6 separate regions of the Homo sapiens genome follow, and all the other regions are linked to region 3. The links are contacts of gene promoters, found by promoter capture Hi-C in blood cells and fetal thymus (Javierre and others, 2016). All regions are on one chromosome and are shown on one strand. The core of a region is centred on a gene start or on the middle of the fragment in contact, and the rest is flanking DNA. Distances in the headings are between cores, read along the strand shown. Region 1 overlaps BEX4 (brain expressed X-linked 4). Region 2 overlaps ARMCX5-GPRASP2 (ARMCX5-GPRASP2 readthrough). Region 3 holds the start of BTK (Bruton tyrosine kinase). Region 4 has its middle 53 kb from the start of RAB40AL. Region 5 overlaps ARMCX5-GPRASP2 (ARMCX5-GPRASP2 readthrough). Region 6 overlaps ARMCX5-GPRASP2 (ARMCX5-GPRASP2 readthrough).

Region 1 (2,701 bases), core at 107-2,606, 1.8 Mb after region 3:
AACACTGCTTTACAAGCTTGTATTTTTGTGATTTACTTTTTCTGTAAGCCTTTTGGGGTTTACACTTACCAGTTTCTAATGGAAATTAGAATTCTAATTGAATATTGTTTTGTCTCAGCCTAAAAGTTACGGTCAGCATGGCAATTCACCTATTTTAGGAAAAATACTCTTTTCATAATATGAAATGCATAAAGCAGTTCAAAAAGCAGTCTGTATTCCATCATCTTCCTTTTTCATTCCAGTCCTTATTTTTGTAAGTATTACTTTTCCTCCTCCGGCTACCTGGACTCAAAATCTCAGTTGTCTTTGACAGTTTTTTTCTTGTCCCTGACCAAAAAAGAATGATCATACCCAGAATTCAATGTTTGATATTTTAAGAATGTATGTTCTAGTGTTTTTCAGAGTGAGTCTACCATCTGTATAAAAACACCTTGGGGGCAGGCAGGGGCATTTAAAAATGTAGGACCTATCGTCCAGACTCACAGAGTGGGGCTCCAGAATCTCCATTTTTAACAAACTCTCTTAAGTAATTCTGATGTGTACCAAAATCAGTGCCATTGGTGTGTGTGTACGTAACTATATACATATGTGTGTGTGTGTATATATATAATGTGTCATAACCGTAAACAATAAACAATATCAAGATAAATCTGACTTTGATGGGCAAGTAATTAAAAAAGAAAAGTATGAGACCTTAAAATAAGACTGATGATTATAGGAGTGGTAGGGACAGTGGCAAAGTTATTCACTGTGCAAAGCAAAACATGCCTGAAGGTCACAGCCTGAGGAACTCAGAATTCATCACCCCTGTCAGCAGTTTCACATCCAGGATCTCATTTTATTCTTAGAACAACCTATAAAATCTGTATTGTTATCCCACTTTTACAGATGAGGTCACTGGGGCTTAGAGATGTTAAGTACCAAGGCTAACTCCTGCTGAATATCTTGGGGGTGGGGGAATCCAGCCTGGGCCATTTTCTATTGGACCTTATCATCTGGAGATGCAGAATATTTGACTTTTGTAACTTGATGACAAGCTGAGGATGGTAAAAGAGACTCAGCAAGAATGGGGCTGTTTTTCTATACACTGTTTTTCTACATCTCAAGTACACTTTAATTTTTAGAATATTGAGGGATAAAAAAAGTAAGATCCTCTAGTGTTGTTCAAAGTTAGGATTGCCACTCTATGGCTCTTGAAATCAGTTTTGTGGGTTACAACAAGCAATTTTTTAAAAAGAGAACAAAAGTCATCCTATCACCCGTGAGTAGTGTTAAGAATTGTTTTGGAGAAAATAATGTGTTCTATGTAGTAAATATTGCCACCTTTATGATGTATTTCTAACTAGATCACAGTGAAAAAAGAATGAAAATCACTTATTTGGTGCAAACTTGGTTTCACAAGTGAAGAATTGTTAAGAAAGCGATTTTTCCTAAGGTCATACAGCCAATTAGTGAAAGCTGTGACCACAGCCTTGGTGCTTCAGGGTGCTTGTCTTCTCACCACATTGCCTCCACAAAGAATTATTTGGAAATTTTTGCATTATGTACTGATTGCCAATCAGTGTAAATGGAAAAGCATATACAACTTATGCAAAAATCACTTTATATGAACTTCACACTATTTAGTCATCAGAATTCCTGCATGTTCAACTGAGAACCACATTTAAGGGAAACTCTGCCTCAGATAATTTTGGAGCTGGAGTGATCTTTCACCTGTCTAGAGGAAGAGGATGATATAGAGTCTGATTTGAAAATGCACAGTGGTGAACTCAGGCACTTCAAAAAGGCTAGTTGACTGAGTAGAGTCCATGAATGATCTTTTGGTTCCTCTGAAAATGAGTACTATGCCTTCTGGCAAAGACCAATTGTGGATTTCCCAAAGTAGCCTCAATCTACCTCCCTCACAAAAAAAGCTAGCTGTGGGGGTGTGAGATCAGAACATGATTAGTTGAAAGAAAGCTGAAGCCTCCTCACTGGGGTTTTTGGGGGAGAATGAGGAATAAGGACAGACTTTCTGGAAGAAATAAAAGTGTCAATGCTTGGGTTCAGAATATGGTTTTTTGAAGTACCAAAATGAGCCCTGTCTCCTTGGTGTTTCTGGGAGAGTGGGATGATAAGAACAGAATTTGCTGGAAATGGTAAAGGTCAGGGAACGGGGTCACAATGTAATTGGTTGAAGGAGAACTAAATTAAGACTCCTATCGTGGGAGTTTCTGTGATGGTAGGCGACGAGCACAAAACTTTAGAGGACATAACGTTCAGTGACCAGAACATGATCAGGAGCGTGATTGAAGAACTGAAGAAAACTCCCTTACCTCTGTGTTGCTGCAAGGGTGGAGGAGTAAAGAGAGAACTTTCTAGAAAAAGCTAGAGGGGGCTGGATCAGGTGACTGAAGAAGAACAGAGCTATCACAGCGAACACATTTATACATCCCATGGGAGGGTCAACTTTCCTTGATCTTGGTGGGCAATACATTTTGTCTTTTTAAGGTGACAACAGAGAGATGTCAGTGAATGCCTCTAAAGAGACTAGCAAGAAAGTATAATGACTCTTTTATAAAAACCAACAAAAGCAAATAAACCAAGAGTGAAGAAAAAGGGCTAACACATTCATCCCTATCAGTGGTTTATACATTCATATTTGTAAAATTTTAGTTTCTTGAGGAAAATGTGCATGTTTTTATGGATTTTGGAGCAAAGC
Region 2 (2,700 bases), core at 38-2,537, 1.2 Mb after region 3:
TTCCTCTCCTAACTTTTTATACATTTAGGGGAAGGTCTAAAGTGGAAAATCTCAATATGGTGTAATGGATCCCTACTTTTAATAGCTATCTGTAGTTTAATTTCTACTAGGATCAGTTGTGAATCTATTGTGGTACATCTAAAAGTTTAAATGAAGCACAGTTAGCTACACTTGTGCATTAAGGGAAACAAGCAAGGTAGTTTTTTTGCAATGTGAAACTTCAATTTAGATGATTTTTGAAGTTCTTTATAACATTTTTTAATCCACAGAACTCCTGTAGCCTGTAATACCAGCTGTGGGTACTACTCTCAGTGTTGGAGATCATCAAAATACAATTGGACCAGACCCTTTGGAAATAATTCTGTGTCTCAAATGCCCTGTGGAGCACACACTTAATCAGTTGATGGCTATGGAATTTTCCAACATCAGCTAAAGAGAAGGGTGAGTGTGGGGTGTGTACGTATTTGTGTCAAAGCACAAAGTTGATGGTCTCTCCTTGGATGGGAATTGTGGGATGCGAAGTCATCTCCTAGATTGTTCATGAGGTGTCATCTGTTGATGGACACTTAGGTTGTTTCCATCTTTTGGCTCTTATGAATATTGCTGCAGTGAACATTGGAGTACAAGTATCTGTTTGAGTCCCTGATTTAAATTCTTTTGGGTATATACCTAGACGTGGAATTGCTGGGTTGTATGATTTGTTTAGCTTTTTGAGGAATTACCAGCTGTTTTCCACAGTGCCTGTACCATTTTACATTCCCGTCAGCAATATGCAAGGGTTCCAATTTATCCACATTCTTGGTGACACTTGTTATTTTCCATTATTATTTAAATAGCCATCTTAGGAGGTGTGAAGTAGTATATCATTGTGGTTTTAATTTGCATTTCCCGAAAGTCTTATGATGTTGAGCATCTTTTCATGTGCTTATTGGCCATTTGAGTATATTTTTTAGAGAATGTATGTTTACGTTCTTTGCTCATTTTTAATTGTGTTTTTGGTTATTGTTGCATTGTAGGAGTTTTAAAATATATATATTCTGGATACATGCCCCTTATTAGCTATGTGATTTGCAAATATTTTCTCCTGTTCTGTAGGTTTTTTCACTTTTGATGATGTCATTTGATGTGCAAAAGTTTTTAATTTCAATGAAGCCCAATTTATCTATTTTTTTCTTTTGTTGCTGGTGCTTTTGGTGTCATATCTAAGAATTCATCACCAAATTCAAGGTCACAAAGATACCCATATGTTTTCTTCTAAAAGTTGTATAGTTTTAAACATCAGAGTAATTAGTGTTTCTATCACCTCAAACATTTATCATTTCTTTGTTTTGGGAACATTCGAAATCTTTTCTTGCTATTTGAAAATATATAATTATTTATTGTTAACTGTAGTCACCCTACATTGCTATATAGATCATTAGAACTTATTCCTCCTATCTTGCTGTAATTTTGTATCTGTTAACCAACCTTTCCCACCCCATTCCTTTCCCTATATTCTCTTAACTTTTAATTGAAAAAAAAAAACCACAATAACTTTTGCACCATCCTAATAGTAACCACTATTCTACACTCTACTTCTATGAGATGAGCTTTTATAGCTTCCACATGTGAATGATAATATGTGGTATTTATCTTTCTGTGCCTGGCTTATTTCATATAATGTCCTCCAGGTTCATCCATGTTTCCACCAATGACAGGATTTCTTTCATTGTTATGGCTGAATAGTGGTCTGTTGTGTATATATACCACATTTTTTTATCCTTGCATCTGTTTATGGGTACTTATATTGATTCCATATCTTGGCTGTTGTGAATAGTGCTGTGATAAACATGAGAGTGCAGATATCTCTTTGATATACTGATATCCTTTCTTTTTGATACATACCCAGCAGTAAGATTGCTGGATCATATGGTAGTTCTATTTTTAGTTTATTGAGAAATCTCCATGCTGTTTTTCATAATGGCTGTACTAATTTACATTCCCACCTACAATGTATAAGAGTTCCATTTTCTCTGCATCCGTACCACCATTTGTTATTTTTTTTTGTCTTTTTGACAATAGCCATTCTAACTGGGGTGTGATGATATCTCACTGTGGTTTTGATTTGCATTTCCCTGATGATTAGTGATGTTGAGTGTTTTTTCATATAATTTTTGGCCACTTGTATGTCTTCTTTTGAGAAATGCCTATTCAGATCATTTGCCAATTTTTAAATTGAATTATTTGTGTTTTTGTTGTTTAGCTGTTTGAGCTCCTTGTGTAGTCGTGTTCTACACAATGTTTCAGTCAATGATGGACTGCATGTATGACAGTGGTCCCATAAGAATATAATACCAAATTTTTGCTGTACCTTTTATATGATTAGATACATGAATACTTACCACTGTCTTACAATTGCCTGCATTATTCAATACAATAACATTCTATACAGGTGTGTAGCCTAGGAGCAGTAGGCTATACTATGCAGCCTAGGTATGTAGTAGGCTATACCATCTAGGTATTTGTAAGTAGTACTTTTCTTCTTCTAAGTAGAAGAGCTTTTTTGCCCTTCTTCTTTTAGAAGATCTTAAGAAAATCTGAATCTATGATAGTCTTACAATGGTGAAAATGCCTAAGGACACATTTCTCAGAATGTATCCACATGGTTAAGCAATACATGACTATATATTCTGGATATTAGTCCCTTGTCAGATGAATAGT
Region 3 (2,700 bases), core at 90-2,589:
TGGGCAACTTATCCAAGGATGTCTTGATTGGGGTCACCAATCACTTTTATTCTAAATGTCATATTATTTGCTCTAGGTAGGCCCTCTGGGGGACATTGGCAGGTCTGAGGCAGAGTAAAAATTATAGCAAATACTGAGATCCAGCACTTACTATTGCCAGGCCCTGTTTTAAAAGCTTTACATGTATTTGCACATTTACTGCTCACAACCACCTTATGGGGAAGGTGCTAGGCAGGCAGGGAGGAGGAAATGGAAAGGGAAAGGAAAAGGGAAAAGAGCGGGGGAAGAAAGGAGCAAGAAAAAGTCAATGCAATTCGGCAATTATTTGTTAAGTGCTAACTGTATGTCAGGGTCTGGTAATCAACAGAACAGAGGAGGGTATAATGAAGAGGGGATATAGGTAGAGAAAAGAGGATGAGTGGGAAGAGGAGGAGGTTGGAGAGGAGGAAAGGAAAGGAGAAATAATGAAGACAAGAGAAAAGCAAGCCATGCACATGGAGGGCAATGGTAAGAGGAGAAACCTTTGCCACAACCTCAAGGGTTGGCCGCACTGTCTGGGCTGAGGCAGAGGCTGCTTTCTCCTGGCCCAGTCTTTTACCCATTGTTACCACGAGGTTGGCACAGCTTCCACACAGTCCTTTAATAAGCCAGCTCTGACCCTGGCGACATTTGGCCTGGTACAGCTCAAGGCAGGTAGCCTACACCCTGGCCTAGCCAGGCCTTTCCCTAGCTCACAAAGGTCAACTTCATAACGTGGAGCGTGAGCTTTTACCATGTTCTCAGAGAATCTGCCTCTTAGTATTTCTTTTTCTAAAGGCTTCATTGACCCATGTATCCCTATTGAGTCTTCAAGCACTATTTGACAGAAGGGCTTGTTTTTATCTGACTGCTCCCTGCAATATTACTTTTCCACTAAGTTTGCCAGAGGTACCCCTTTCTAACATTTGCTACCTGTTCGGATGGTCACCTCATGTCACATTTTTCTCTTCCTGTTCCGCCCACCCTCAGCCCTTGTCGGAAAGGACCCTTTCGGCCTCTCTAATCACCAGAAGGGACTGCCAGGGCCTTGTGCTGATGACACTCCCACCCTCCGTCAGCCTCCTCCACTAGCTGATAAATGGCACCAGCCATGCTGTCTCTCTGGTTTTTAGGGGTCCCAAGCAAGGTACATTGCTGCTGCTGCCCAGCCCCTGCCATACCCCAGACCCACCTCAGTCCTGACTTAATGCAGGTAGCTTCCCAGATGCATTGAGATGCCAGGACTTGGAAGGTGGGACTCGATCGCAGCAGACACTGGCCCTGGAGACATATTCTTACAGTCCAGAGAGGAAGGACAGTCTGAGCAAACCCCACCCTTTCACAGCCACTCAGTTCCCTTTTTTTGCTTCCTGACCTAAACCAATGTCTTTTTTTCTTCTCAGCAGCATGCTATCTGGTTCCCTGCTGCCGTCCCTATTCCACCCCCTCAACTGTCCCCGCCCTTCATTTGCTTGGGACCTCTGACACTACTATCTTGAGTCTATCTTTGAAAGAACCTTTCTCAACATGACTGGGGCCACTGAGACTCTAGATGGGGCTGGCCTGAGCAGACAGGTCATCAAGCTATCCTCCCAGAGGTAAAGGGACAACATACCTAAAGTACTATGAAGACAGTCAGCACAGGGAGAGGGGCTTACAGGAAAGAGGAGAGATGCTGGGGGCTGGCAGACACAGAGCAAAGAGACTGGCCAGGAAGAGCGTTTTTCGAGTCTCCTGTCCTCCGGGGCAGAGGAGTCTCAGGGACACACAGTTGAACTTGATAGTGAAGGGACCCCAAAGGACAAAACAAGACAGAGGTAGAGACAAGACTTCCCCGTGCTGAGTCATTTTCTAAGAAAGCATTTTTCCCCTACAGATAAAAATGTCGGAATATAAGCCCACAGAAATACTTGTGCCCTTCCCCATTTTCTGTGGATGTTGACTTTCTCCATTTAAGATTTGGCCTCAGGGATTAACTCTCAATGTCCACCTTTCTCTTGAGTCCTGTAAACCGGTAAAGCAGACTAGGTATGTCACTTGAAGCCTGGAGGTTTTCTCAGGGGCCCCCTACATTATGCTCCAACTGCAATGATTCCCCCAGGGATTCTCCTAGGAAATGCAGCCAGTATTGAATGCAGACCATGATGGTGGAGCCCCTGCTGACTGATCTGCCTGCCCACCTTGACACCTCGGGCACTGCCATATTTCCTTGCCCCAAGGCACTGTATCCTAATGTAGAAACAGATCACAGGTCCCACTACAATTTCATCCGAAGTTTTAAGTCAACAGGACCTTATTTTTTTTTCTTTATTTTGTCTAAAAAACAAACAAACAAGCAAACAAAAAAAATGGGGTATATGTGCAGAAGGTGCAAGTTTGTTACATAGGTATATGTGTGACATGGTGATTTGCTGCACCTATTGACCCATCCTCTAAGATCCCTCCCCTCACCCCCAAGCCCCAACAGGCCCTGGGACCTTTTTTTTTTTTTTTTTTTTTTGAGACAGGGTCTTGCTCTGAAGCCCAGGTTGGAGTGCAGTGGCGTGATCATGGCTCACTGCAGCCTCCACCTCCTGGGCTCAAGTGATCCTCTCACCTCAGTCACCCTAGTACCTGGGACTATAGGCACACATCACTGTGCTGGGCTAATTTTTCTACTTTTTGTAGAGATGGGGTTTCACT
Region 4 (2,758 bases), core at 107-2,606, 1.6 Mb after region 3:
TACTGTGATCTATAAAGTTTTAGCTCTCTGATGCTACCTGGGAGCTCTAACAGTAGGTTTTCTGAGAAAGGAACTCAGATTATACAAAAGTAAGTTGCTCAAATTTTAAGACCAGGAAGGTCAATTTCTATGTTCATTCAAAAAAACTATAAACATCAGCTCTATGAGAAAAGTAGGCCAGTTTCCCTTCCCTTTCTATTTATCTAGTCTTCAATCATGGGGAATCTAGTCACTGATCTTTCTAGCTGCTTCATTCTAAGGGGCATCGTGGGATAATGAAGAATGAAAACATACCTGTAACTGGAAATACTCACAAGTACCTGGCTAGTTTCTGGCTTTTTGGAACTAGAGTGATTAATAATGTAGAACATGGAGAAGATCCCCTAGGGAGTTTAAGAACAATCCTAAGCCTATCCAAAAGTCAACTGTGGGATAAATTGACTGATAGAGCAAGAGTTTGTGAAATATGGGTTAATGGGTTACCTTCCCATCTAGAAGCAGGAAAGATCTAGAGAACAATAACCTGAAAAGTGCATATTCCCTTCATGATTTCTTATCTAGAGTCTTTGACAGGGCTTTGAATATTAAGGCTGTCAGAAGTTTATAAGACCATGACTGTTTCCCCTGGAGGGAACCCAGAGGGACTGGTTTTCTCAAATATGATAAATATACAGCTTAACACTGGCCAAATTAACAGATGAGTAGGTAGTCAGCAGCACCTCAAGGATCAATCCATTGTGGTTGCAACTCGTCTTCAGCCTGGAATTACCAGGTTTTCAGCAGGGCTTGGTCCTTCAGTGTCAGAGTAGAGAGGCATATCACTAGGGAACTAATCTGTCAGAAAAAAACTCAGACTAATTGGTTTTTGTTTTGTATGTGATTTAGCTTTTGTTGGGAAGAAAAATCCTCAGATGGGGAGTCTACAGGTCAGAGAAATGGTCGCCTATATAACATTTCAAAGGGGCTAAGAGCCAACCCACCTCTAGGGGCTACCCATACTCTCAGCAGGGCAAGGGGTAAGACCTTTTCCCAGGTAAGATTTGTCTCCTGGGAAGCTTTAGAAAGAGACTTCCTTAATGTCCTACTTATTCTTTCAGCCATCCCAGAAGTTTGAGGTCGCCAAAATAAATGCAGTTTCCAATCAGTACTCAGTGACCACAATACTTTCTGGGCTACTCGGGCTATAAAAACAGCTCCATTGTCACTTTGGAGAGTGTGTAAGAGTCCTAAATCAAGGAATATGCTTCATTAGAGCCTTTACAACTTCAGTAGCTTTCTCAGTCTTGGTGGGGCAAGCCTCAACCCAACCTATAAAGGTACTGACAAAAACCAGCATCAAATATACAGGGGCTCAGGGCATTATAGTGAAATCTAATTGCCAGTATTCCCTAGGATGAGTTACTTTCCATTGATTTCCTTGTTTAAAGGGAACTTTTGTGCCTTCCTGGGGCTTTGGGTTATTTTTTCAAGCAGATAGGACAACTTTGGACTACAGTTTGTATTGTTCATTGCAAGTTAGGCCGAAAGATAAGGCTGTATCCAGCATAGAGTAGCTTCCCACTATAATGGGTGCTTTGGATTTGTTCATGAATTGGTCTAATTAAAGTTTCTGGAAGGATAACTTCTTCCTTCATTATTTGTAAGCCATTTATGATCAGCAAGCTTAGAAAATCCTCCTTGCTCAGCTCTTTTAAGATAAGACTCTGAATATCCTGGGAAATACGGATCTAAACAGAGTAGGAACAAGAGCCAGTCTGAGTGGTGAGCCCCCTGACCACATTTTTCACCTCTAGGTCAGTCTTAATATTTATTTATGCAACATGGGTGTCCAGTGTCTTTGACGGTGAATAACTGCTGCTACTTTGGGCATTTTTACTGTCTCCAATAATTCAAGAATTTGAGGACCATGCTTTATTATTAGAATTAAAAAGGCCAACTTTCCTTCCAAATTACCCGGTGAGCATGGGATATTAGGAAAACATACTTAGAGTCAATATAAATGTTGACTTTCCTTCCCTTAACCAAATGTATAGCTCTGGTTAAAGCAATGAGCTCAGCCTTTTGGGCGGACGTCCAGGGGCTTCATCTATGTGCTGGGTAGTAACTATAGCATGTCTGGCCCTTCTGACTCCTTGTTCCATGAAACTGCTCCCATCAGTGAAGCAATCTTTGGATTTTGTCAATGGCAAATCTGAGGTCTGGACTACTGGAATAAACCTGATCAATTATTTTAATGCAGTCATGATGAGGAGGCTGGAGATTCCCTGGTAGCAGGGTGACAGGATTCAGACTAGAAACAGCCTTAAGACTTACATTTGGGTTTTCTAGAAGCCTGGCTTGGTACTTTCCCAGTTGGCCAAACAATTAACCAATAGCCTCCTTTCTGCTCAAGCGAAGATAACGTATAATGCATAGTATACACTGTCAGTTTTCAGCTTCCTGCAACATGTCACAGGTAGCAGCCACTGCCCTTAGGCAGATAGGCCAGCCATTAGTTATCATGTCGAGCTGTTTCAAAACATAGGCCACAGGATGTTTTTAAAGTTCTAAGGTCTTGAGTTAATATTCCAATTCCCTGTCCTCCTTGAAGATTTGCATAAGTCAGGAATACCCAGTACTTTCAATGTCTCTTTGAATGACAGGGTCAGAAGAACACATATTTCCGAAAGGTTGTGACTAAGGGTTGGAGACCCCTTCTAGCCTGGAGCTTTAGAAAATACTGTTTAATCCAGGGGTTGTAATTCCTGGTCTCAACATG
Region 5 (2,700 bases), core at 170-2,669, 1.3 Mb after region 3:
CCTGTGACCATGTGATCTCATTGTTCAATTCCCACCTATGAGTGAGAATATGCGGTGTTTGGTTTTTTGTTCTTGCGATAGTTTACTGAGAATGATGGTTTCCAATTTCATCCATGTCCCTACAAAGGACATGAACTCATCATTTTTTATGGCTGCATAGTATTCCATGGTGTATATGTGCCACATTTTCTTAATCCAGTCTATCATTGTTGGACATTTGGGTTGGTTCCAAGTCTTTGCTATTGTGAATAATGCCGCAATAAACATACGTGTGCATGTGTCTTTATAGCAGCATGATTTACAAGAAAAAAACAAACAACCCCATCAAAAAGTGGGCGAAGGACATGAACAGACACTTCTCAAAAGAAGACATTTATGCAGCCAAAAAATACATGAAAAAATGCTCATCATCACTGGCCATCAGAGAAATGCAAATCAAAACCACTATGAGATACCATCTCACACCAGTTAGAATGGCAATCATTAAAAAGTCAGGAAACAACAGGTGCTGGAGAGGATGTGGAGAAATAGGAACACTTTTACACTGTTGGTGGGACTGTAAACTAGTTCAACCATTGTGGAAGTCAGTGTGGCGATTCCTCAGGGATCTAGAACTGGAAATACCATTTGACCCAGCCATCCCATTACTGGGTATATACCCAAATGAGAAGCTACCTTTCTTACTTTGTCCCTTCCCTCCAGTTATCCCTCCCCCGCTATAATGTCTGTCAAAAGCCTGTCGATCCTTCAAATATTTTCTACAAGGCCATCCACCCCCTACATGGTGACACTCCTGATCCCTCTCACCAACTCCATGAACTTTCACCTTCTTTTGAGCCCACTTCCTAATCTAATGTGTTTATACCTTCACTCCAGCGGTTAACTTGTACTGTTTGATTGGACAGCCATTCAGATAATCTTCATATTCTGCCATTAACATTCCTGATCCTTCCTTCTCTGTGTATCTTTGTTTATCCTTGGCCCAGGTATTCAATGCTGGTTCAGGTTAGTGGAAACACCTTGCTTCAGAATCAAGTAAATACTTCCTTTGAGATGGGACTGTACACTAGAAAGTTTGTCTTAGAAAGAGATGGTAAGCTTAGAACATACTGTTTTTAATGTGTTTATGACCTTAGCGGCATATATTTTTAATTTTTAAGTCATTTACTAATGGAATTGGATAATGTAGTATTGCACTGTTGTTTTGATATTAGTAAAGAGGTTAAACATATTTTCAGATGTTTATTACCTAGTTGTATTTTCTTTCTTGTGAGTGGATATTTTTAGGTTTTCCCCATTTGCCTTTAGAGGTCCTTGGTTTAGAGGTTTTCAGAGGTTCAAGAAATCCTTATAAATTTCTGTGCACACACAAACCTATGAACAGTCCAGCAATTTTGAAAGGAAAGTAATTTGGAGGTTGGGCAGGAATCTAAAATTTTTTTTATCAACCTATGGTTATTAAAACAGTAGAACTGACTCAGGAAAAGATAAATGGGACACAGAGAGCCCATATATAGGCATTTATACTAAGACGACAGTTCAGATTCATGGAAAAAAGTGAAATATTCAGTCTGCTGTGGGTCCTCAAGACCATCCACATGTTCAATGATTTGCTAGCAGGACACACAGGACTTGGCATATAGTTGTACTCACAGCTGTGATTTATTACAGTGAAAGGATACAAAACCAAACCAGCAAAGGGGGAAAAAGCATGGAGCAAAATCTAGAAGAAAATAGGCTCAAGCTTCCAAGAGTCCTCTTGCTGTGTGTGGTCACACAGGATATGCTTAATTCCTCCAACAATTAATTGTGACAACATGTGTGAAATGTTTTGTCTACCAAAGACAACATTAGAGACTCAATGCCCAAGATTTTTACTGGGGGCTTTTCATGTATCTGCCCTTTGCCTAGCACAGGCCAAAATTCCAGAATCCAAGAAGGAAAGAAAGTATTTTGCATGAACCACATTGTTTGCACAAAAAGTTTATGTACAGTGAGCCATTCTTATCAGCTCTAGGAATGGTGGGAATTCTCCCTTAGTCCAAGTTCCCAGACTCCAGGGCCGTCCTGGCAAGCAGGAGTTTCTAAGGAGAGCAATCTCAGGCCTGCTATGTTAACGTTTTTTTTTTTTTTTTTTTGCATATTTAGTGAACGGTGTTGGAATAATTAGCTAGTTATTTGGGAAAACAAGTTAAATTCCAATACACATGAACAAATCCCAGGAAGATTAAATGTCTTAATGAGTGTTTTAAATGGAGTGGAAGGAGAAATAAATACTCATTTACCTAGAATGAATTTTGGCTGGTAAATGAAAAATGGAAGAGGAAAATAGAAATGGATTTTTTTCTACATAATACCAGTATCATTTATTCAATAATACGCCCCTACTCCAACAATTTCTCATGTCTCTTTTGAAATTGATGATGTCATTTTCACATGTGTTTCTGAGGTAACTGTTCTCTGGTGTTAGAAACATACCAGTTCACTTACTGCAGTTTATAATAAGCATTGTGTCTTATCTGAGATGTTATATACATAACTCACATACATAGTTGGGCTCTCTAGTTAATTTCATCTCCAATTAATTTTATTTTCATATTCCATCAATTAGATTGATTAGTGGTGAGGGACACTAATATTCTTCTATAACTCCCTTGAAACTTTCTTGGAGTTTCAAAATGGAAAAGGCTGTTGATCAGG
Region 6 (2,700 bases), core at 1-2,500, 1.3 Mb after region 3:
ACCAAAGTTGAGACAAGTGCAGTGGGTGGGGCACGCCCTAAGAGTAAGGCCAAGGCAATACCTGTTTCACGATTTAAGGAAGAAGCCCAGATGTGGGCTCAGCCCAGGTTTGGTGCTGAAAGATTGTCTAAGACAGAGAGAAACTCCCAGACCAATATCATAGCCTCTCCACTTGTCAGTACTGATTCTGTCTTGGTTGCTAAAACAAAGTACCTGTCTGAGGATAGAGAACTGGTTAATACAGACACTGAGAGCTTTCCTAGAAGGAAGGCCCATTACCAAGCAGGATTCCAGCCTTCTTTTAGGTCAAAGGAGGAGACCAATATGGGGTCCTGGTGCTGTCCTAGGCCTACATCCAAACAAGAAGCCTCTCCTAATTCTGATTTCAAATGGGTAGACAAATCTGTGAGTTCCTTGTTCTGGAGTGGAGATGAGGTCACTGCAAAATTTCATCCTGGGAATAGGGTAAAAGACAGTAACAGATCCATGCACATGGCCAATCAAGAGGCTAATACCATGTCTAGGTCCCAAACTAACCAGGAGCTCTATATTGCATCTAGTTCTGGTTCTGAGGATGAGTCTGTTAAGACACCCTGGTTCTGGGCCAGAGATAAAACCAATACCTGGTCTGGGCCCAGGGAAGATCCCAATAGCAGGTCCAGGTTTAGGTCTAAGAAAGAAGTCTATGTTGAATCAAGTTCTGGATCTGAGCATGAAGACCATTTGGAGTCCTGGTTTGGGGCTGGAAAGGAGGCCAAATTCAGGTCCAAAATGAGAGCTGGGAAGGAGGCCAATAACAGGGCCAGGCACAGGGCCAAGCGAGAAGCTTGCATTGATTTCATGCCTGGGTCTATAGATGTAATTAAAAAAGAGTCCTGTTTCTGGCCTGAAGAAAATGCTAATACCTTTTCAAGGCCCATGATCAAGAAAGAGGCCAGGGCCAGAGCAATGACAAAGGAAGAGGCCAAAACCAAGGCCCGAGCCAGGGCCAAGCAAGAAGCCAGGTCAGAGGAGGAAGCCCTCATTGGGACCTGGTTCTGGGCTACAGACGAGTCCAGCATGGCAGATGAAGCCAGCATAGAGTCCAGTCTACAAGTGGAGGATGAGTCCATAATTGGGAGTTGGTTCTGGACTGAAGAAGAGGCCAGTATGGGGACTGGGGCTAGCAGTAAATCCAGACCAAGGACTGATGGGGAGCGTATTGGTGATTCCTTATTTGGGGCTAGGGAAAAGACCAGTATGAAAACTGGGGCTGAGGCCACCTCTGAATCTATACTAGCAGCTGATGATGAACAGGTCATTATTGGTTCCTGGTTCTGGGCTGGTGAAGAGGTCAACCAAGAGGCTGAGGAAGAGACCATTTTTGGGTCGTGGTTCTGGGTCATTGATGCGGCCAGTGTGGAATCTGGTGTTGGGGTCAGCTGTGAGTCCAGGACAAGGTCTGAGGAAGAAGAGGTCATTGGTCCCTGGTTTTGGTCTGGAGAACAAGTTGATATAGAGGCTGGAATCGGAGAAGAGGCCAGGCCAGGAGCTGAAGAAGAGACAATATTCGGGTCCTGGTTTTGGGCTGAAAACCAGACCTATATGGATTGTAGGGCTGAAACTAGCTGTGACACCATGCAAGGGGCTGAGGAGGAGGAGCCCATTATTGGGTCCTGGTTTTGGACCAGAGTAGAAGCTTGTGTGGAGGGTGATGTCAACAGCAAGTCTAGCCTGGAGGACAAGGAAGAGGCCATGATACCATGTTTTGGAGCCAAAGAAGAGGTCAGTATGAAGCATGGGACTGGTGTCAGATGCAGATTTATGGCAGGGGCTGAGGAGACCAATAATAAGTCTTGCTTCTGGGCAGAAAAAGAACCCTGTATGTATCCTGCCGGTGGAGGAAGTTGGAAGTCTAGGCCAGAGGAGGAAGAGGACATTGTCAATTCGTGGTTCTGGTCCAGAAAATACACAAAGCCAGAGGCCATTATAGGGTCCTGGTTATGGGCTACAGAAGAGAGTAATATAGATGGGACTGGAGAAAAGGCCAAGTTACTGACTGAAGAGGAGACCATAATCAATTCCTGGTTCTGGAAAGAAGATGAAGCCATTTCAGAGGCTACTGACAGAGAAGAGTCCAGGCCAGAAGCTGAGGAGGGGGACATTATTGGTTCTTGGTTCTGGGCTGGAGAAGAGGACAGACTAGAGCCAGCTGCTGAGACTAGAGAAGAAGACAGGCTAGCAGCTGAGAAAGAAGGTATTGTTGGGTCCTGGTTTGGGGCCAGAGAAGAGACCATTAGAAGAGAGGCTGGGTCTTGCAGCAAATCCAGTCCTAAAGCTGAAGAGGAAGAAGTCATTATTGGGTCCTGGTTCTGGGAAGAAGAGGCCAGTCCGGAGGCAGTGGCAGGAGTCGGCTTTGAGTCAAAGCCTGGGACTGAGGAGGAAGAAATCACTGTTGGGTCCTGGTTCTGGCCTGAAGAAGAAGCCAGTATACAGGCTGGATCTCAGGCAGTAGAGGAAATGGAGTCAGAGACTGAAGAGGAAACCATTTTTGGGTCCTGGTTCTGGGATGGAAAAGAAGTCAGTGAAGAAGCAGGACCATGCTGTGTATCCAAGCCAGAGGATGATGAAGAGATGATTGTTGAGTCCTGGTTCTGGTCTAGAGACAAAGCCATTAAGGAAACTGGAACTGTGGCCACCTGTGAGTCCAAGCCAGAAAAT

Evidence for each region. The method cuts DNA at HindIII sites, captures the fragments that hold promoters and counts their contacts. A CHiCAGO score of 5 or more calls a contact.
Region 1: a contact is called between a fragment that was not itself captured here and the fragment with the promoter of BTK in region 3, in 1 of 17 cell types (M1 macrophages). The highest score is 5.2, in M1 macrophages.
Region 2: a fragment that was not itself captured here is called in contact with the fragment with the promoter of BTK in region 3 in 1 of 17 cell types (M0 macrophages); the score reaches 5.7 in M0 macrophages.
Region 4: a contact is called between a fragment that was not itself captured here and the fragment with the promoter of BTK in region 3, in 1 of 17 cell types (M2 macrophages). The highest score is 5.4, in M2 macrophages.
Region 5: a fragment that was not itself captured here is called in contact with the fragment with the promoter of BTK in region 3 in 1 of 17 cell types (M1 macrophages); the score reaches 6.0 in M1 macrophages.
Region 6: a fragment that was not itself captured here is called in contact with the fragment with the promoter of BTK in region 3 in 1 of 17 cell types (neutrophils); the score reaches 5.1 in neutrophils.

What each region holds. Positions count from the first base shown.
Region 1 is chrX:103,216,547-103,219,247 of GRCh38, forward strand. It overlaps BEX4 (brain expressed X-linked 4), which reads left to right. Exons shown (of 3, transcript NM_001080425.4): 3 at 1-700. Among named protein-coding and RNA genes, the nearest start is that of BEX4, 2.8 kb to the left of the region's middle. The HindIII fragment of the contact is 2,684 bases long and covers 15-2,698 here.
Region 2 is chrX:102,605,213-102,607,912 of GRCh38, forward strand. ARMCX5-GPRASP2 (ARMCX5-GPRASP2 readthrough) reads left to right here. Exons shown (of 19, transcript NR_146584.3): 4 at 270-441. Among named protein-coding and RNA genes, the nearest start is that of ARMCX5-GPRASP2, 7.0 kb to the left of the region's middle. The HindIII fragment of the contact is 2,962 bases long and covers 1-2,700 here.
Region 3 is chrX:101,384,852-101,387,551 of GRCh38, forward strand. BTK (Bruton tyrosine kinase) reads right to left here and starts at 1,340. Exons shown (of 19, transcript NM_000061.3): 1 at 1,211-1,340. RefSeq lists an enhancer at 607-826. The HindIII fragment of the contact is 7,609 bases long and covers 174-2,700 here.
Region 4 is chrX:102,989,119-102,991,876 of GRCh38, forward strand. No RefSeq gene overlaps it. Among named protein-coding and RNA genes, the nearest start is that of RAB40AL, 53 kb to the left of the region's middle. The HindIII fragment of the contact is 607 bases long and covers 1,054-1,660 here.
Region 5 is chrX:102,671,064-102,673,763 of GRCh38, forward strand. All of the region lies in intron 4 of ARMCX5-GPRASP2 (ARMCX5-GPRASP2 readthrough), which reads left to right. Among named protein-coding and RNA genes, the nearest start is that of GPRASP1, 21 kb to the left of the region's middle. The HindIII fragment of the contact is 646 bases long and covers 1,097-1,742 here.
Region 6 is chrX:102,654,103-102,656,802 of GRCh38, forward strand. The region is part of intron 4 of ARMCX5-GPRASP2 (ARMCX5-GPRASP2 readthrough); the gene reads left to right. GPRASP1 (G protein-coupled receptor associated sorting protein 1) reads left to right here. Exons shown (of 6, transcript NM_001184727.2): 6 at 1-2,700. Among named protein-coding and RNA genes, the nearest start is that of GPRASP1, 4.0 kb to the left of the region's middle. The HindIII fragment of the contact is 852 bases long and covers 825-1,676 here.